Regions from separate parts of the Homo sapiens genome. Here region 1 is linked to region 2. The links are contacts of gene promoters, found by promoter capture Hi-C in blood cells and fetal thymus (Javierre and others, 2016). All regions are on one chromosome and are shown on one strand. Each heading gives the region's core, a stretch centred on a gene start or on the middle of the fragment in contact. The rest is flanking DNA. Distances are from core to core; before and after follow the strand shown.

Region 1 (4,365 bases), core at 802-3,301, 79 kb after region 2:
AGTCCCAGGATGCTATGGGAGCTCAGAAGCATGGGCAAGGGCCCTGGGAACACATCCTAGAAGAGGTGATGCCTAGTTGATACTTTAAAAAGTAGAAATGCAGGAATTAGAGGTGGCAGGGAAGAGTGTTTGAACTGAGAGGACAATCTGAGCAAAGGCTTGGATACAAGGGGAGTTAAAAGCAAAACCAAACAGCAGATTGTTTTATTGCTTTTGGGGTTCTTTGCCCACGGCTTACCTGGAGTCCCACTGCCCTTCTGCCAGGTTGGAAAGATCAAGGCAGGAAGTATGGGCCGTGGCATTAAATCTACATCCCCGGTCAGGATTGGGGTGAGGATGGCTTGGTGGCCTCTTATTAAATGATCTCCCAGTCCTTTTAGTATGGTGTAGAGGAAAGAGCCAGCACCACTCCTAACTACCTAGGCTGACCTTGGGCGAGAACCTAATCTTTCCCAGCCTTAATTGCTCCATCAGCCAAATGGAGGCCAATGTACCCACCTACTGACAGAGCATCACACTGAGGACCATAAAGATCTGTTTAGCCAAAATTAGTTCCTCCTTCATGCCGAGCTCACGAACCTATGGTTAATGAGGGTCTTATCAGAACGCTCTTTGGGCTTGAAAGAGAGGCTCTGTTCAAGTCTTGGTGGGAGGAGGGATAGTCTCCGCATCCCTATTTGGGGTAGGTGGGGTTGGGGGCGGTGGTGAATGGGGCAGTAAACTCCTGCTCGGTCCATACTCTAACCCAATAACCGGGAGGCCTGGTGGGTGTTTAACTGTGTCCTGCCCATGCAAAGACCAGTGTGTGTGTGTTTGGGAAGGGTGGGGTCCGCCCCAGGGGCGTCTGCTCAACTGCTGGGCAGGGGGACGCGAAGTGCTCGGGCCTTCTGGATCCCGCAGCAGGATCCGGGCCGGGGCTCCACTCGTTTCCCTAGCGCTCCGGCTGCCACCGCGCGGGGGTCGGCCGAGCCGCAGCGTCCGGCCTCTGGGGGCGACGTCTTTAGGCCCCGCGCCGGTCCTTGGGAGCCGGGCTCGTGCGGCGGACGGTCAGGTCCCTCCGCTAGCAAACGGCTGTCTGGGGCGCCTCGATCGCTCTCCCGCTTCACGGTAGAAGGCGGCGGCGCGCGAGGGGAGGGGAGGGCAGGCCGGGTGACTGCGACTCCGCGTGCTCACCTGCTGGTCCGCGAGGCTGAGGGAGGGGGCGCCGGGGGCGGGGCCAGAGCGCGGCTGGCCAATGGGGGAGCGCATTCGGCGGCCGGCTAAATTCCCCCTGGAAAGTGAAGGGGGCTGGGGTCGAGGGGAAAGTTCGAAGCTCCGGAGCAGCGGAGGGCTTTGGTGGCGGCCAGAACCATCCGGGGACAGTTGCAGGCGCAGGGGCAAGATCGGGGGACCGGAAGACGCCAGCCGCGGCCGCGGCCGCCTCCGCCAGGGACGGTAGGCCCAACCCTGGCTGCCCCTCCCTTCCCGGGCCCCGCCGGGCCACTCTCCCGCCATCGCTGGCTCGACAGCGCCACCTGCTGGACGTCGGCCTCCACGTCCGGCGCGCCGGGGCCCGAAGTTCTCGGAGGCTGGGACCTCAGTCTGGGAGGGGAAGGAGCTCACTCACCCCAGGTCCAGCGGCTTCAGAGCTGGAGGCAACTGCCTCTTTTGGAGTACAAGATGGGATCAGAAAGGCCTGTGACCGTCAGAATAACTTCTTGTCCCGCCCCACCCACCGGAGCTGACACTTCCACCGCACAGCCCCACCCAGGGGTGAGGAAATAGTGGCGAGGCAGTCCCTGGAAGCGGGCAGCAGCAAAGGGCGGGAGTTCGGGAGTTGCACGTGGCACCTGGTGACAGCAACGCACAGCTGGCAAGCAGCCCTGGGCTCCTCATGGACCCTGTGATCCGGGGATGTCTGTTAACACTCCAGGGGCAAAGGAAGTAGCCGCCTGCAGTGTTATAGGAGCGGGCAGAAAGCTGCCTTAGCTCCCAAGTGTGGATTGTCCTCCTCCCTCTCCTCTTGCCTGCCATAGCATAGGGCAGAAGTCTCAGAATTAAAATCAGGACCAGTTCCTTCTTTCAATAAGCATTTATTAAGAACCTACTGTGTGCTAGGCACTAGGGATATATCAGTGACTAACACACAGTCCCTGTCCTTGAGGAGCTCACAGCCTATTGGCGGGGAACCCTACATAAACACGTAATTAAAGAACTGTACTGTGCTAAGTGCTACCATAAGAGGTATTTACAAAGTGCTGTGAGGTGGCTCAGGGCTGTAATCCCAGCACCTTGGGAGGCTGAGGTGGGCGGATCACTTGAGGTCAAGAGTTCGAGACCAGCCTGGCTAACATGGTGAAACCCGTTCTCTACTAAAAATACAAAAATTAGCCGGGCGTGGTGGCACGCAGCTGTAGTCACAGCTACTTGGGAGGCTGAGGCAGGAGAACCGCTTGAACTCGGGAGGCAGAGGCTGCAGTGACCCAAGATCGCACCACTGCGCTCCAGCCTGGGCAACGGAGGGAGACTCTATCTCAAAAAAATAAAGAAAACAAAGTGCTGTGGGAACCCAGAGGAGGGAGTAACATATCAGCTGCTGGGAGATGAGGGTCATCTCTTGACTCCTGACTCCATTAAACCAAGAAAAGGCAGAGACTTACTGCCACATGACTCTGGTTAAAATGAACCTGTCTCCTGAGGTTCTCCTCTAGCCCTCTCCCATAACTGTATCAGCACAGGTTAATTGGTTTAGCTAGTTTCACACTTGGAGTAGGAAAGAAACTGGACAGGGAAGTTGCTTTAGGGGTAGAGGATGTTCAAAATAGTAACAAATTTTGAGTGCTAAGATGGGGGGGTGGGGTTGGGGATACCATGAGGGCACTGAGCCAGGGAGGGCAGGCCCAGAGCAGTGGAGCACCTGGGGTGAGTGCCTGTGCAGAGGGGAGGTCAGAGGTCACCTACCTCAAAGTTTGGTCCCCATCTCCCACCGGCTCCATCAGTAACCATTACCTTGATCCTTTGTACTGTGCCATGTTACGTGGTTGATACAGTCCCTCCCACTCCTCAAGGAGGTAATGTGCTAATTGGGGACACTAAATAGGTACAGGTCATTGAAGATTTAAGTAACAGTTTGCATTATAATAGATGTCACAGGGTGTTCATGATCAGTTGCTGAAAGAGTGGCAATTGCAATAAGTTTTAAATAACTCACTTAGGACAGACTGGTCTGGGGAGGCAGAGTCCATGAATCGAGTCTTGAAGGAGGGACACAATTTAATTGGTACTAGCAGGATAGGAAGGACATTCTGATTGAGTGGAACCAATCAGATCTTGAAGGATGGATTGTACTTTTTTTCTTTTCTTTTTTTTTTTTTTTTTTTTTGAGACAGTCTTGCTTTGATCACCCAGGTACAATCTCGACTCACTGCAAATTCCACCTCCAGGTTCAAGGGATTCTCTGCCTCAGCCTCCCCAGTAGCTGGGATTATAGGTGCGTGCCACCAAGCCCGGTTAATTTTTGTATTTTTAGTAGAGATGGGGTTTCGCCATATTGGCCATGTTGGTCTCCAACTCCTGACCTCAGGTGATCCGCCCACCTCAGCTTCCCAAAGTGCTGGGATCACAGGCGTGAGCCACTGTGCCTGGCTGTGGATGGATTTTCTTTCTTTCCTTTTCGTTTCTTTTTTTTTTTTTTTTTTTTTTCAAGATGGAGTCTCACTCTGTCGCCAGGCTGGAGTGCAGTGGCGCGATCTCGGCTCATTGCAACCTCTGCCTCCCGGGTTGAAGTGTTTCTCCTGCCTCAGCCTCCCGAGTAGCTGGGACTACAGGCACACACCACCATGCCCAGCTAATTTTTGTATTTTTAGTGGAGACGGGGTTTCACCATGTTGGCCAGGATGATCTCGATCTCTTGACCTCGTGATCTGCCTGCCTCGGCCTCACAAAGTGCTCGGATTACAGGCATGAGCCACCGCGCATGGCCAATGGATTGTATTTCTAAAGGAAAAGATACATAGAAGGGAAGAATATTCATTAAGAAAACACAGGAGTGTGTAAATAATGTTGAGTTTGTCTGTATTGCCTAGAGCAGGTAAAAGATAAATGGAGGATCTTGGTTTCCAGGTTTAAAATGCTTAGAATATATGTAGTAGATAATAAGAGCAAAAGCACAGAGTTTGGAAATTGTAAACAGAGGCATGTTCACAGGCCAGCAAATCCATCAGTTTGACTGGAGCAGTGCCTTGGGGTATGAGTGGTGGCAGAAGGAGCAGGGTGAGTTGACTGGGGAAGTCAGTTAAGACCCAAAGGTGAAGGGTCTTGATGGCAGGCCAAGGACTTGGGGCTTTGTCCTGAAGACAGGGCTGATGCTAAGCTTAAAATACTTCC
Region 2 (4,524 bases), core at 93-2,592:
CACCGCCTTCCCCCTTCTTCAGCCATCTGACTCTCCTAGGGGTATGTGTTTTTGGGGGTGGACGGCGACGGGGGTGGGGGATACTTTCCTTCCCGTGGCGGCAACCTAGTTCGTATCTTATTCCTACAAGGTAGCGTCGCTTCGAGTCGCATGGACATTGGGGTTTAGATAATTTACCCCCCACCCAAGCGATTTAATGGCTTTTAAGCAAAAGGCGAATACCTGGATTTCCATGGGAGGGATGAGGTTTGAAGATTGGGATTCACCCCTAGCTCACTTCCACTACCAACCCCTCTTTCTTGTGAGCCACTTCCACGGGTATTCAAATCTGGGGGGGAGGGGGGACGGGAGTATTAATATGCTTCTCTATTTCTACACAGGGTCGGCGTGGCGAAGGACGGCTAGCCTTGGAGGGAAAGTAGCCACCAGTCCAACTCGGGTCGCCCCCACCATTATTTCGGTGAGGGGGCAACGCTAAGAAGGGGATACTGGTGGGTAGGGGCCCAGTATAAGGGAGGGGGCTGGGTAGTCGTCCCCAGAAGGACTCCGTGTCTTGGCGGGGAGAGAGAGAGGCGAGCCCCGGCTTCAGGGGAGGGGTTCCGGGGAGGGAGATGGGGGGGTGGCGACGACGGTGGGGGGGGGAGCGGGAAGAAGGGGGAGTCACGCCCTGCCTGCAAGGGGAGCCTCCCTCAGGCCCCTGGGAGAAGGGGACTGAATGCGTCTGTTCTCCGCTGCCCGGCAGAGGAGATCTGGGGTCTCGAGATTTGCACACTGGATCGGCACCAGTGGCCTGAGAAAGTCAGGTCGGGGCATAAGGTGGAGAACGTTGGAAGAAAGAGAGAGAACCCTTTGGCCGCGGCTCACTGACCCTCTCCCTTCCTCAACCTCCCCCTTCGAGGGGCGTCGAGGTGGGGGGGGACGTGGGGCTCCTGCAGCCCCGCAGATTGAGCGCCTCCGCCTCTCCCAGGAGTCTAGCTTTTTGCCCGGCTTGCTGCAGCCACTGCTGCCTCCCTCTCCGGAATCCGCTCGGTCCTCTCAGCGATCCCCTCCTCCTCTCCTCCCCTCCCAGTGTCACCGGGGCTGCTTGGCTCTGCCCCCTTCGCCGCCGCTTGCTCCCTGCTTTCGTCCCTCCCTCTCTTGCTCGCTCCCTCCCTTCGCCTCCTCCTCCCCATTCCCCCCCACCCGCGTAGGCCGCATTCTGGGAGTTGTAGTCCGGTGGAGCGGGGGTTGGCGCCGCCCGCGGACCCAGCCGGACTCCACTTCCCGTCGAGCCCTGCGACCGGCACCCACTCCACCAGGCTTCGCTCGCACACAGACACACACACACACCGCTCTCCCCCTCACTCTTTCGCTCGCCGCGGCTGCTGCCAGTGTGTGGCTCTGTCTCTCCTCCGCTTTGCTGAGCCCTCCCTTCTTCCTCTCAGTTCCTAGAGTCCGACCGCCGCCGCCGCCGAGAGAGAGGAGAAGGAGGTCGGTGGCGATAAGGGGCGGAGGGGGGCATCAGATCGGGGCAGTATTAGGCGGGTGGCGGTTAAGAGGGAGTAAGAGGGAGCCCGGGTGGCGGCCTGAGCCTCCCCGCGGAGCCGACCCGGGAACAGGTGCGTCTTTTTTCTCTCTCCCCCAATCCCTCCACCCCTTTTGACTCCCCGGCTTTTTCGTATCCCCCCACCCGCTTCTTTCTATCTTAAGCCTTTCTCCAACCCTGTTCCTTCTTTTCCCTGCGGCCGCTCGGCTTGCCCCCCGGGGGCGCCGTCCTCTTCGTGTCCCCGGACGTAGCGCTCCCTGGAGCTGGGTATGTCTTCGCCCCTCCCTTCGGGACAGCTCCCTTCCACTTCCCACCTTCGTACCCCATCCCCTGACTTGCCCTACCCCCTTCTCGACCCCCTTCTCTCTTAGCCAGGTGAGACTCGTTCGCCACGATCCAAGAGAGTCTTCTTCCCGGCTGGGCGGGGGTCTCCATGGAAACGGGGGTCGGTTGATCCTGGGGGGGAAACCATAGGAATTACCCCACTCCTCGGAAAGGGAGGTGGAGGCTATGGTCTTGTTAACTACCTGACTCCAACCCCCGATCCAAGGATCCGACGATCCGAAGGGAGGCTGGCTAGCAGGGCAGGGCGAGAAAAGGCTTTTTTTTGGGGGGGGGGGGTGTCCGTGATGAAGTGTTGAAGAGACCGGGAGAAAATGCCCTCCAACCTCAGAGGGGAGGTGCGACGGGTGCTCTTCAGGGCTGCTTTCTTCCCGGCGCTGGGGTGCGGGAATCGTAGGGTAAGGGGTACCCCTAGGTGGCGGCGGGGCCTGGGTTCGGGAGTGGGAGTGCTGTGATGGGGGCAGGGGCAATTATCCGAGTCCCTGGAAAAAAGGCGGGGGATGACTTCGGAGCGCCCTGGCTCCGCTGCCCTCGCTCTAGGGGCGGGGGCCGCCGGGCCGGGCGCGGCGGGGAGGGGGCTTAAATTGAAGGAAGATGAGATCGGGGGCAATTCATACTAGCACCGGCAAGCCAGAGGGGAGATCCGGCGTGCAAGCCCTCCACCCGCTTCGCGCCAGGCCTGGAGGCAAGGGGTCGGCGAGCGAAGCCGAGGGCTGGAAGGAGGGAGGCTCCGGTTACGGGGCCGGGTTTCGGGATCAGGGGCAATCCCCCGGCCCTTGGAGAAGGAGGGAGAGGGATGGCCGCGAACCCCAGGGCTCCCCCACCCCGGGTCCTAAGGGGCGTGAGGGACGGACAGCAGGCCCAGCGGAGCTGGATTCGAGCGGATCGCGGCCGGGGAGTGGGAGGGCTTAGTGGTGGGCTTCGGGGGGAGCAGTCCGGCGGCGGGGCGGGCGGGCGGGGCGTGGGGCTCCGGCGGGCGGCGGGGCGGGGCCGGGGGCGGCGCTGCTGCCGCCGCCGCTGCCGCCGCCGCCGCTGCTGCTCCTGCTGGGGCCGCCGCAGCCGTTGCCGCCGCCGCCGCCGCCGCTTCTGGGCGGGGAACGGAGGCCAAAGAGAGTCCCGTGCCGGGGCAGAGGGCGCAGGCGGCGCGCGGTGGGGAGGGGGCCGTCCTGGGGGCGGGGGCAGGCGGGGGGGTGGAGCCCCCGACGGGGGGCGGTACGAGCCGGGACGACGACGACGAGGAGCCCCGGGGGCCGGGTGCATGGAGGACGAGGTGCTGGGAGAAGGAAGGGGGGTGTGGGTCCCGCGACTGGCCTCGTGGGCTTGGCTCCTCGAGGTTCGGTTTCGGGACAGAGCCCTGCAGGGGCGCCAAGAGGCCGGGGAAGGGATAGGGAGGTGAACTGGTCGGTGGAGGGGGCCCTCCTCGCCGGGGTCCCGCCGAGAGGAAGGCTGGGCCAGAGGGACGTCCGGGGCAAGGCTGGGAGGAGCCGGCCGCACCTCGGCTGGGGATTTCGCGTTATGGAGGTGCGGGAGATTGTTGTAGGGAAAGACGTGGTCGAGGGGAAAGGTGGGAGGGAAACACTGCAAACCCGGGAGGCCAACAGCACAGGCCCGTGGGGGTGCCCTTCTATTCCGCTCGCACCTCCTCCCTCCCTGAGTGGAAGCACTATGTTTTTGTTTTATTGTTTTGAAATTTTCAATGTTGGCTGATCGAAACTGTCGATGGGGTGATATTCATTCTTGGTGTCTCCTGGAGTAGACAGTAAAGACAGGCATCCTTTGGCGAGCAAGCATCTAGCCCAGGGTTTAGAGGCTCTTTACGTTAGTGTGGGAAGGGGGCCCGGTAACTTTGTGCCACAGCTTGACTACTGTTAAGGCAGTTTGGAGGTCGTCCCTGTGGTACAGAGGTGGAGTACAATTGCAAAAATCTTCAGTAAGACTTCTGGAGATGAGTTGTAGGTTAGCGTTACAGTGGTTAGCCCTGTGGTTCTTTCAACTTAGAAGGCTCTTTCTCAAAAGCACGCCGTTGAGTTACATGGGAAAATAAATGTGGATTGCATTTGGGGTTGGGAGTGGATTAGGTTGATTATAAAATTTCAAGGTTGGAAGGGAGTTTTAAGGTTATTTACTTTTCTGTTGATATGTCCTGTCCTTGAATGTTGGAATTGAGGGAGCTTTATTTTGGGGAAGATGGTAGATGGCACAGTGGAGGATGTCTGGTGCACAGTTTAGGGTACTTTAATTGAATGGTGATGTCACCATGTGGTACTAAAGATGACAGTATGTAGGAGAGAAATTTGGGGGATTCCACTGGGGATTAAATGGGATAACCTAATTTTAAGAATCATCCCGGGGCTCCAAATAGAAGCAAAAGGCTGGGGAGGAGCCTGTAAAATTTCGATGGAGGCGAAAAGTTAGTAGCAAAGATTGAGGTAGCTGGGAAGAGCAAGGGGCTTGGTGAGTCAAGTTAAGAGAATCTGAAGGTTGATAGTAGAGTTTAGGGATGTGGCCATCTTGACTAAGTCATGAGGATGTTGTTAGGCGGACATCTTTTGACAGGGCAACTTAGGCAACTGCCCTTGGGGCAGATGTGAGGGATGAAAGGTACAGGCCTTGGGGCACAGATCCTGACTAAAATTGACCTTAAGAGGGCTGATCCT

What was found. The method cuts DNA at HindIII sites, captures the fragments that hold promoters and counts their contacts. A CHiCAGO score of 5 or more calls a contact.
Region 1: a contact is called between a fragment that was not itself captured here and the fragment with the promoter of BCORL1 in region 2, in 11 of 17 cell types (non-activated CD4 T cells, activated CD4 T cells, total B cells and 8 more). The highest score is 11.1, in non-activated CD4 T cells.

What each region holds. Positions count from the first base shown.
Region 1 is chrX:130,059,165-130,063,529 of GRCh38, forward strand. No RefSeq gene overlaps it. Among named protein-coding and RNA genes, the nearest start is that of ELF4, 49 kb to the right of the region's middle. RefSeq lists silencers at 1,065-1,324, 1,345-1,644, 1,665-1,734. The HindIII fragment of the contact is 4,596 bases long and covers 1-4,349 here.
Region 2 is chrX:129,981,293-129,985,816 of GRCh38, forward strand. It overlaps BCORL1 (BCL6 corepressor like 1), which reads left to right and starts at 1,343. Exons shown (of 14, transcript NM_001379451.1): 1 at 1,343-1,470. RefSeq lists a silencer at 2,172-2,408. The HindIII fragment of the contact is 8,398 bases long and covers 1-4,524 here.